3 separate regions of the Homo sapiens genome follow, and all the other regions are linked to region 3. The links are contacts of gene promoters, found by promoter capture Hi-C in human tissues and cell types (Jung and others, 2019). All regions are on one chromosome and are shown on one strand. The core of a region is centred on a gene start or on the middle of the fragment in contact, and the rest is flanking DNA. Distances in the headings are between cores, read along the strand shown.

Evidence for each region. Contacts are between HindIII fragments. The study calls those that stand out against the background at their distance.
Region 1: a fragment that was not itself captured here is called in contact with the fragment with the promoter of FIGN in region 3 in 3 of the 25 tissues and cell types used here (aorta, heart left ventricle and mesenchymal stem cells).
Region 2: a fragment that was not itself captured here is called in contact with the fragment with the promoter of FIGN in region 3 in 1 of the 25 tissues and cell types used here (dorsolateral prefrontal cortex).

The regions. Positions count from the first base shown.
Region 1 is chr2:164,131,823-164,135,558 of GRCh38, reverse strand. No RefSeq gene overlaps it. Among named protein-coding and RNA genes, the nearest start is that of FIGN, 400 kb to the right of the region's middle. The HindIII fragment of the contact is 3,855 bases long and covers 1-3,682 here.
Region 2 is chr2:163,366,072-163,369,847 of GRCh38, reverse strand. No RefSeq gene overlaps it. Among named protein-coding and RNA genes, the nearest start is that of FIGN, 370 kb to the left of the region's middle. The HindIII fragment of the contact is 3,099 bases long and covers 921-3,776 here.
Region 3 is chr2:163,734,431-163,738,255 of GRCh38, reverse strand. It overlaps FIGN (fidgetin, microtubule severing factor), which reads left to right and starts at 2,248. Exons shown (of 3, transcript NM_018086.4): 1 at 2,248-2,418; 2 at 3,184-3,353. The coding sequence starts at 3,329. RefSeq lists enhancers at 609-1,124, 1,125-1,641. The HindIII fragment of the contact is 21,926 bases long and covers 1-3,825 here.

The sequences.
Region 1 (3,736 bases), core at 506-3,005, 400 kb before region 3:
CAGGTATATTTGACTAGTAACACTTCGATTTATATCTACTCAATCCAGAGCTGAGCATTAATTCATATATTTAGTGACTGCCTGCTTGTGTCTGCAGTGAATCTGGATAATTTCATCCTGCAAATCCCTCTGTGATATTAAATTCATAATGCTGAAAGAGACCCTTATCTGGTACTGCTCCTTTCTCACAGAGCTGTCTAATAAACTATTTCAGAAATATCATTTAGCTGGAGCTTTCTTTCAAAAATCAAAATAAACTTCTCCAAGTTCTTTTTGTAATATATTCCTGGAACCTTTAAGGCTAGTGACAGTGGTATGGATTGGAATAGTCTCACAGTGAGGCAAGAGATTCCAGTTCAGCTCAGATTCTGCCCCTAACAAGAGATATTATTTTTAAGGCAACTTATTCCAGCTCTGTGTGCCTCAGTTTCATCTGCAGAAAAACATAGAGATATTTACTTGCTCTAATAAATTATTGTGAGGTTGAAATGAGGTAAAGGGCATATATAACTTTTGAGAAAAGTTAAGAGATACAGTAATAAGAAGAACAATGAATTCAAATTGGCTATCAAATTGCCTCACTTTCAAGATCGTGGCTAACCTATCCCTGTTCAGAAAAGACATAGGCTGAGAAAATCAGTAAAGGACTGAATTACTGTGGTGGTCAATTATAATTGTGTAGCCATATGGCACATATAAAATACACTTCTTTTGGTATAAAGTGGCTTTCCAGGAAGCCTTCCTTACCCTGCTCCCTCTTATTGCTGGGCTTTAAATTTTTTTTTTTTTTTTTTGACAACATCCTTCTTACTTTTTGGTTAGTGGGTCACAAGCTTAGAATGAATTCGGAAGTTAAAACATATTTCAGCAATTAGCACCCTAAAAACTCAAGCTGCTTTTTGGCAATATTCTAAAAAGATGATTTCAGCACCTTTCATCCCCAGCTTGTTTGATAATTCACATTCCCATGTCCTTGGACTTGGCAGGCTCCGCAGTGCTAGAGACGCATTCTTAGTTTGCTGAGGAAAATGTGAGCAACTTGAAGATGCTAAATAGGGACATTAGCCACATCTGAACTAGATATACTGAGTTAGTGGGGTTTTGTTCCTGGCTTGTTCTCTCTATTTTTAAATGTGATTGTACTCAGTGCTATTCTGAACATTTTAGTTAACTCCCTGGCGTCCACCTACCTATCTTATTATTAGCTACCCTCTCTAGAAATATTTTTAAAGAAGTTTAAAAAGAGATGAAACAAAATGTCTTCCAAATAGCTTCTACCTCTGGCTTCAGAGGAATGAGCAGACTCTTAGCTGCTTTTATACTTCATTTCTCAGAGGCAGGGACAAGTGACAGCCAAAAAGAGACTAGGAAATTTGGTCCAGCATAGAAAACCCTCTATATTTTAAGTCACTTTAAGTATTCAGACACAAGGTGAGAATTATTCATTCAGAAAAAAATTAATGTTTAGTCCCTGTCTAGGTAAAAGAAGAATGGCATTATGCACATTAACTAATAAGCATAATTATAATTAGGTTTTGTTGAAGGGTAAACACCATTTCTTCTCCACTTCCTCAATCCACAAATGTTTCCATACTAGTCAAATATATGTCATGTTTTTTCTCTACACTGGGTCATTATGAAAAGTTACAAAAGTGGTCAAAAGCCTAGAGTAGGCCTAAGGGAAACTTGCATGACCATGGGAAATAATTTCATCTATTTGGACTACTCAAGTCCTTTTTCTTCCTTTCTTCTCTTTGACTGCCCACACTGATAACTGATGTTGCAAAGATTTCTAACTCTAAAATTGCATGATCCAAAGATGCTAAAGAAAATTAAAGTGGGAATCTTTGGGCTATAAGTCCATTTTTTGTAACTATTCAATACAGACTGTTAGGAAGAATAAAATGTACAATTGGGGGGGAAGGTGATGAAAACTTCAAAATCAGGAGGTAAAAGTTCTGGTTCTAACTCTGGTTGCTCTTTTTATTACTGAAAAATGAGTCTCTCAATTAGGAATATGTAACACTTCTAGCTTTAAAACTGTTTAATTGCTATATACACTACTAGATCTCATGCCTAGGTTGTCTGAATCATAGTCTTAGAAAGTGGAGCTCAGTTGCATAATCTTAAAATGTTCCATAAAGGATTCTGATGCATGCCCCTCATTGACAAACACAAGATCAGCCGATCAAGCTTCCTTCCCACCTTGACATTCTTAGAGTTTAGGGCTCTGTCTCTATCAGGACTCTAGCAAGTTGTGGCAAGGAAGTACAGAATAACATCACGTTTTACATGATGTTGAGGATATTTGAGGGCAATTTAGGTGATGTAAAGAACACTGGGAGGTGTTTATAAAATGTTTCCAAGCAGATAAAGCTTTTGACAAAGAGCTGCTAATTTTATAATTGGAAGACAATCCCAACTATAGGAAGATGAAAACACATAACTAAGAATGACTTTTTTCTATTCTCTATCTGTCTCAGATTCATTTAATCAAAGAATCTTTTTAGGAGTGCTCAGGGGCATTCTTATTTCTCAAATTTCTTCTTAGTTTCTCTCCTCTATTAGTCCAGGGACCAGCTATAGTATTATTAATTTGTATCACACTCCTCCTCCTTTAGTATAATTCAGCCTCTCTAGCTTTCTGTTTCCCCGGAATACCAAGTTCATTACAGCTTCGGGATCTGGAATGCTCTCCCAAAGACTAGCTCCTTCTTACCATTCCATTGTCTGCCTGCCTTTCTCCTTCTCAAAGAAGCCTTTCCTCACTTTCCAGTCCAAAACTCTTCCATTTCCGTTACTCTCTGTCACATTAGGTCTCTGTCATATCTGGCCTTCATAGCACTTAGCAACATTTGAAATAATCTAGTTTATTTATTGCTTACTCATTTATTGTCTTATAGAACATGCTTATAATTTCCCTAATGCAATAATCTTTTCTATGTTGCTTATCACCTGTCTGGCACAGAGTAGGTACATAGTAAATATTTGTTAGACTAAGAATTGAAACTTTGCTGTTCTCCACAATGTTTTCTCAAACAATAAGCATCCTCAAGAGTATGAATAGCCACTATAAAGAGTAATTTTAGCATTTTCGTGTTTTACCTTCTTGGAGCTTATGTGCTTAATAAACATCATTAAGAATACAAACTTAAGGCTTTACAGAAATAGGCAAAATATAATATATATCATGGGATATAATAATACCGTATTACATGTACAATACAATAAAATGAAAGCATAAAATATAAATATTTACAATAAGTGTAGTTGTACTTCTATTAGTCGTTTATTACTCTTTCACTGCATCATTTAATAGAGAGCTTCTTGCTATCTCAGAAACAACACAAAACAAGATTCTAAATATTATTTATATTTACAATAAGTGTAGTTGTACTCCTATTAGTCGTTTATTACTCTTTCACTGCATCATTTAATAGAGAGCTTCTTGCTATCTCAGAAACAACACAAAACAAGATTCTAAATATTATTTATATTTACAGTAAGTGTAGTTGTACTCCTATTAGTCGTTTATTACTCTTTCACTGCATCATTTAATAGAGAGCTTCTTGCTATCTCAGAAACAACACAAAACAAGATTCTAAATATTATTTATATTCCTTTTTGATGCAAGTGACTGAAAGCCAAAGAAAATTCACCTATGCAAAAGGGACACATATGAGTTTACACATTTAAACCAATAGGTAGCAGCCAACACATAGGGACAAGTGGTATT
Region 2 (3,776 bases), core at 1,221-3,720, 370 kb after region 3:
TTTGAATATCATCAGCACAGAATACAAGCTCCTGGCAAAAATAGGTGCTCAATACAAATTACTGAATGCTTCCTACATGCGTTTATTTTTACTTGCACCATGACAAATAACTAGAAAGTTTGCAAGAAATGAATAACTACAATTTCTCTTTTTTTGAAATTTAGCTTTTCTTAGATTCATTAATCCTTATTTTCTTCTTTTGATAGAATATTCCCAACTCATCCTCCGCTAAAGTTCAAATATTTTCATATTTTTCTTTTATTGGAAGCAATTATTATCCTATAATTAAATGCATTTGATTAACGACGAGAGTTTCTAACTCTTATTCTCATGGAAATTATTTTAAACTTCAATCCCAGTTAAAAACAAATGCAAAAAAGACCTTACTAGTGCAGGGGCATATTGATTTACAGTCCAAACTAGCTTTTAGCTATTTGTTCTTCAAGTGACTCTTTAGACAGACATCAGGGTGCTGCCCTATGGTATAGGCTGGGTGTACAAACAGAACAACTTGAAGAACCAGTGAAAATGAGATACAAGGGAAAGATATAAGCTCCTGTGGTTTTCCCTTATGTGCATATTACCTTTCTCATGATGCCTGGCAGTTTTGAAACTCTACTGTAATACAGTTTGTAGCCTGTAGCATAGAAAGACAGAGATGTAAGTGTGATATGGTATATGGGCCCAGAGACAAAAAGAACACTTATAAAAATTGAAGCGACAAGCTTACATAGATAACTTATTTATTTAAGGCTTTCACACTGGGTAGCTACACTGTGATAAGGGTTGAGCAATTTGGCTTAACTCTAAAGGAATATCTAAACTTTAACTCTCTCAAGTCAAGAGTTTTCTTATTTTTTTTTGTCACTTTTCAAAGTTCAAAAAGCCTGGTAATTTATTTGATGCTGCACATTTCATGAAGCTATACATGCATGGCCTGGGATTAGGATAGGTGGCAGTTAGAAATACTGCAATACTGTAAAAAGTGCCATTCTTGCAAAATTTTCAACCTAATTTAAACCTATCCATTCTTGATACCTTATGAGAAATATGTAGTATCATGGGGCTTACAGCCCAATTTTCTGACCAAACAAGTTCAGATATTTTCTAAAAAGCTTCTGATAAGCAACTTCAAAGTTGTGCCCAAACCTCTGACTCTAGAGGTCCTTCCAACCACAATAAACTCTTGGAAATGTCTTAATCTTTGGTTAACCAGCCTTTGATTATCTCTGTGTAGATCGGGGTGTCCAATCTTTTGGCTTCCCTGGGCCACAGTGGAAGAAGAAGAATTGTGTTGGACCACACATAAAATACATGAACATTAACCATAGCAGATGAGCTAAAAAAATTGCAAAAATACCTCATAATGTTTTAAGAAAGTTTATACATTTGTGTTGGGCTACATTCAAAGCCGTTCTAGGCCGCATGCAGCCCTCAGGCCGTGGGTTGAACAAGCTTGGTGTAAATGGTTAATGCCACTCAGCAGGCTTCTGAGCTACCTTCCTCCATGATGACTGGGTGGTATAAGCTCAGAGAATTGCTAGTTTTATTTTTATTACTAATATAGATTTATGTTTTTTACTAGTTTAAGCACAATTAGGGGTAAATTTGTTATAAAAATCACATAGTAAATTCCAATGGCAAATGTAAATGATGCTCACAGTTTGCAACATTTTTCATTATTTGTAATACTGCCTCTATTTACACAGAATTCAATTCAACAAACATTTATTTAACGCATACTGTTTATGTCAAATCCTATGCCAAGAGTGGACTCTGTACATTTCAGCACCTTATTTATTTAGACTAGAAATGCCAACTTATTTCCCCATGGTCAAATAAAAAAGTACAGAGGCATTTGTTGTTTTGGCTGTGCTGCTTAGTTCTGGTCTCTATAAATGGGACAGGAAGGCATAATCAAATGCATGGGAACCCAATGGTAATGATAGAAGTGTTGGCAAATAATTCACCTCTACCTCCTTCCAGAGAGGAGGACAAGTGAGCTATGTGTGCCTAGTCAGGTGTTTCTATCTGAGAGTTTGAATCTTGTGAGCAGGTGACAAAGGCAATCAGTCTGATCAGGGTTATTTTTATAGAAAATCTGGTGGACTTAAGGATTTAGCAGTGTTATCCTCTGTAGTTTTTAGGTGTCCTTAGGTGACATTCTAAACAGAAATAGAAGATTTGGGCTGTGCCTTTCCTGTCTTGGATTCTTGCCAGGCCTTGTGTCCCAGTCTTTCTGGATATTATTTGTGTTTACAGCCTTCCAATAAATTCCTTGTCTGTTTAAGATAATGAGAGAAAGTTTCTGTTGTTTTCAACTAAAATAGTAAAGAAATGACCAATAGTAAAGGAATATGATGGCATGATGATATGACTTGCTTTATATCTGAGATTGGTATTATAAAGTTATAAATATCAATTTAAATTGTCTGTAATCATTATTCAATAAATATTAAAACTGCAACTAGATAAAATTAAAATAAAATACAACTCAATAGCACATTTTTTCTTCTAAAATTATCTTTATGAAATGTAATTGAGGCCAGGTGTGGTGGCTCATGACTGTAATTCCAGCACTTTGGGAGGCCAAGGCAGATAGATCACGTGAGGCCAGGAGTTCGAGACCAGCCTGGCCAACATGGCGAAACTCTGTCTTTACTAAAAATACAAAAATTAGCCAAGTATGGCGGCCCACATCTGTAATCTCAGCTGTTTGGGAGGCTGAGGCAGGAGAATCACTTGGACCTGGGAGGTGGAGGTTGCAATGAGCCAAGATCGCGCCACTGCACTCCAGTCTGGGTGACAGAGCGAGACAAATGTTTGAACAAATGTTTCCAGTTTATCTAAAAAACAGCTGTGGGCCGGGCGTGGTGGCTCACGCCTGTAATCCCACACTTTGGGAGGCTGAGGCGGGTGGATCACGAGGTCAGGAGATTGAGACCATCCTGGCTAACACGGTGAAACCCCGTCTCCACTAAAAATACAAATAAAAGTTAGCCGGGCGTGGTGGCCGGCGCCTGTAGTCCCAGCTACTCGGGAGGCTGAGGCAGGAGAATGGCGTGAACCCGGGAGGCGGAGCTTGCAGTGAGCCGAGATCACGCCACTGCACTCCAGCCTGGGTGACAGAGCGAGACTCTGTCTCAACAACAACAACAACAAAAAACCAAAACAGCTGTGATGTTTGTTTCAAGGCTAGCATGTAAGGAGTATAGAAATTATCACTCCATCCTAACAACAAGTAAAAAAACTGAACAAATGGAATAACAGCTCTTGGTCCATCAAGGAGGTGAAGTCACAAGGCAAACTGCTCCCCCCAAAATTGGAGACAGACAGGCAGATACAGATAATCACAACTACTAGGGCAGAAGCCCCCTAGCAGAAACCTCCTTAAGAACTAGTTTTGGGGGTAAGAGAACATGAACTGTCCTTGATGAATGGCCAGAGGTGAAGACTAGACACTCCTGAGATTTAAAAAAATCCAGGGGACCCCAGTCATAGAAGAGGCCCTACACTTAAGTGAGTTTACCTCCAGGAACTTAACCAGGTTCTCACAGTAAATATTGGAGAAAAATTTCCTCATGCTTCAGACAAGAAAAGAGAGAAGGAATCATTTTGAAATATGACAGGACATTCTGTTCTTCTTAACAAGGACTTCCCTCAAGAGAAACTATTTTTTCAGAGCCAAACTATTGGGATTTTGTCAGAGTCTAAATGACTAGGAAAAAGGGAAAGACCCAATTCCTACCCACTGTAGTTATCCTGCCCCATCTAAG
Region 3 (3,825 bases), core at 999-3,498:
ACAGTTTTTTTTTTTTTTTTTAATTCATCTGTACTCAATCCAACAGTGACCCACAGATATTTCCCTACACTTATTTCTTTGTGGTAAAATCCAATGAACAACTTTTCGTAATATCATTTTCAAAGCCATCTTGTAAAATATAACTAAAGAGGTTTCAGTGTTCTCTGTTACATCAGAATAAAGTTCTTCTGTTTTATTTCGAAGACTCCTTTTTTAAAAAATTCACAGAAAGGTCAAATCCATTCCAAATAGAAATCTCATTGCTTAGAAATATTTCTTAGGATCTCGAATCACTCTTTTTTTGTCTTTTAAATTCTGTCATCTGCCTAGATTTAACTGAAATAATTTTTATTTCTCAGTGTGTTAGCTAAAGGCATCCATTCAAAGGTAAGAACATCATAAAAGGTGAATGGAATTAATTTCAAAGTATATATTTGGCATTTTTAAAGAGCTGCATTTCAGCATCTGGAGAGCTGCAATTTAGGCTATCAAATCTACAACAGAGAAGCTGGGGGAAATGTGAACACCCTTATGAGGAGGGTCAGTCCTCAGCAAGTGCATTTTCGGTTCCAACCTTCAAAGGTAACATTTTCAGCTTGATGGGCTCCTGGTGGAATATATAATTTGCCTCTTTCATTCTTAGCTTCGTTGAAATATAGAAGACTGGATGTCTACCAGGCCAAAGTATAAACTCACCATTTATCTATTAAAGTCATATTTAATGAAAACGAAGAGAAATTATGACCCAATTCACTCTCTTTCTCATTACAATTCCTAAAGAACTTTGCCGGGCACATTATCTCGTAGACATCATGATCAAATGTTATTGTTTGCTTTATTATCTCAGTTGGATGGTTGGCTAGTCTAGAATGAAATAGGTTGAAGGCAATACTCTCAGCCTAGAAGTCTGAATGAGGTTCCCATTCAAATGATCCTGATTGTTTGCGGGTGGGGCGGGGTGATTAGTAAACCAACTGAGCTTACACTGCATAGTAAGCGTCTGGATGCCGCACATTTACATCTAACAAGAGACCCCAGAAAACGTGTGTGTGTTTCTTAAACCTTATGTTCCGAACAAAAGGCTATCTCAGCAACAGACAATCAGCACTGCATTGCTCCCTGGGATGCGAGCAACACACTCAACTGCACATTTCATTCTTCCTCGGCTCCCAGCACCACAAAGCCCCTACTCTCTTCCCACTCCTGGGTCCCCAGATTACTCCATAGAGGGGGGTTGGGAAGGCAGAAGCCTAACGTCTATGCCTGCGCACCAGCCGCCGACACCAGGGCCCCCCGGGCGCTGCTTTCTCCAGCCCGAGCCGCCTGGGGGAGGTAGGGAGGGGAGCCAGGGAGCGCGAGAGGGGACCGCACACCTAGACACTTAGGATTTTATTTATTCACAGGGAGGCGGGGGAGGGGAACTGGGCGAACGCGAATTTTCTCCCCGAAGTTGCCTCTTCTAAGCAGATCAAGTCGTTTTCTGGCTGGTGCTGGGGGCCCCGGGGAGGGTGCCGGTGAGGTCCAGGCTCTCGAGACCAGATCCCGTCCCGTGCGCAGAGGGGGTGGGGAAGGGCGGACGGGCCGCAGCTGTCGAGAGGGCCGGGAACCGGCAGGGAAGAGCCCGCGGGCCGGGGAGCAGCGCGGCTCTGTCCCGGGCCCTCCAACGCAGGCCGGGGAGCGCAGGGGCCGGCTGGTCACGCGTGGGAAAGAAAGCCCCCTTCCCCCTACGGCGCTGCTCCCCTTTCCCCAGGCTGGGCCGCCAGAGAGTGCGTGCAGGGAGAGCTGCGAGTCCCCGCGCGCGTAATCATGACCTCGGGGCCCCCTCCGGGCCGCGTGAGCGCATCGGCGAGGCTGGGCGGCCGCCGCGGCCCCGGCCGTGTAACATGACCCGAGCGGCCGGCCGGCCGGCGCGGCGCGGCCATTGAGCCCTCCCTGCCCATGAATCTCTGGCGCGTCTCTAGCTCGCTCGCCGGCTCGCCTCCCGCCTCCCTTTCTCCCCCTCCAGCTCCGCGGGCTCCGTGCGCCTCTCCCTCTCCCTCCTGGTCCTCCCGCTGCCCGTCTCTCTCCACTGCCCGCCTCTCGCCACTGCCTCCCGTCTTCTCTCCCTCACGGCAGCCTCCGTCTCTTTCTCCCTCTCTCCTTTGAAAACTGATCTTTGGCTCTTAGTGTGAAAGTGATTTGAATTTGGCTCTGCGGCGCTCTGCGCCTGCGCCCAGCCTCTGGCATGCTGGCTCCTTCCAAGCAGCTGTTTTGGGTTTGAAATTCCAACATGGCAGAGGCTGCAGTCCGTCTTCCCTTCAAAAACTTGGAATGATTTCAAATCATAGGCACCTTCACTTAACCCTAGCTTCCATTCATCAGCAAACACATCGGATCGATGCTACGCTAACCTATCGGGTTCTCTCTCCGCGCGTTCAGGTAAGAGGAGCTTCGTAGTTTTCTACCATCTGTTTAAATTTGTTTTTGTTTTATTTTTAAAGAATATAAATACATCCAAGACCTGTAATTAAAAGAGATCTTCAGTTGTGCCGTAAACATTAAATTCAATTTCCACTCGTTTCTATTCTGTACGCCAACCTGCTGTCTAATTTCTCTGTTCAAAGTAGCCCTGAAACATTATAATGCATATTTTTGCTGCTTAATCATTGTAACAATAGTATGGGATTAAGAGTTCGCGATTGCAAGAATCTCGCTTTTCGCTATATTGGGCTTACTTATTACTATCTTTTTACTTCAAAAATAAAAAAATAAGAAAGCGGAGCCATAGGGTGGGGCTAGACTTTCTTCGGGAACTAACTTCTAAGTAAATAAGAAGTGTAAATAAGAATCTTGCACACACACAAAAAGTTGAGGTTAAATTACAATCTCGTGGCTGGGGGAACGAGAAAATGTCAGAAGATCGGTTGCAGAAAAATGTAAGCACATCATCTAGGAGGGGGTACAGCGTGGTGGGCGTATTGTTGGCAAGGAACGGGAGAGAAAGATGTATAATTTAATGGTATATACAATCCACTGATCCTATTACCGTCCTCCCCGGAGCTCTTGTTAGTTTCAATGGGAGTGAGTGAAATTGACATGGACTTGCATTCCTGGTCATGTGCTTTTTTTCCTTTCTTTCTTCTCCTGTGATCTGAGATCCCCTTTTTGTTGATGTTGCTTTCCCCCTTAATTATATGCATGTAGGTTAAATGAATACCTGACGAAAGGGCCCACGTTTCAAGGCAGTGACATTTGATAGCTGAGAGGAAAAGTGGCTTTAATGAAAAGCAACCTTTGGAATTCCTGCTTGTGAGAAATCCAATTCAGCTTTTTGTGCTGCCAGCAAGAAATGATCAGTAGCACCAGTGTTTATGGTATGTCAGTTTTGGAATTTACTTCCTTTGCATCTAAATAGGAAAGACAAATGAAATAGCATGATAAAACCATTGAAGACTGCCTGGCAAGCAGTTGCTCATGATATAGAATTCCTTTTTTTAAAAAATATATGTTTAATGTCACCATGCTTTTTTTTCTTTTGCTATCACTTGTTTGTATATTGCAGTTTTGATTAATATATTACTTGAATCCACTTTTATCGGTTTTAGCTGTCATCCAGAAGTTGCACGTTACTAGTAATGCACTATATATATATAACTGCTGAAGTCAAATAGTATGTAAATTAGTTAAACTCAGTGTGGGTTTTTTTTTTTTTTTTTTTTGAAGGAGGGAGGCTGGGCAAAGGGGAGAGGGCAGGAGTGTTGGGAAAGATTACTAACTAATGAAAGTGTATCTATATATATGTACACACACAGGAACAGGACTGGATGAAAATTTTATTTTTCTCAA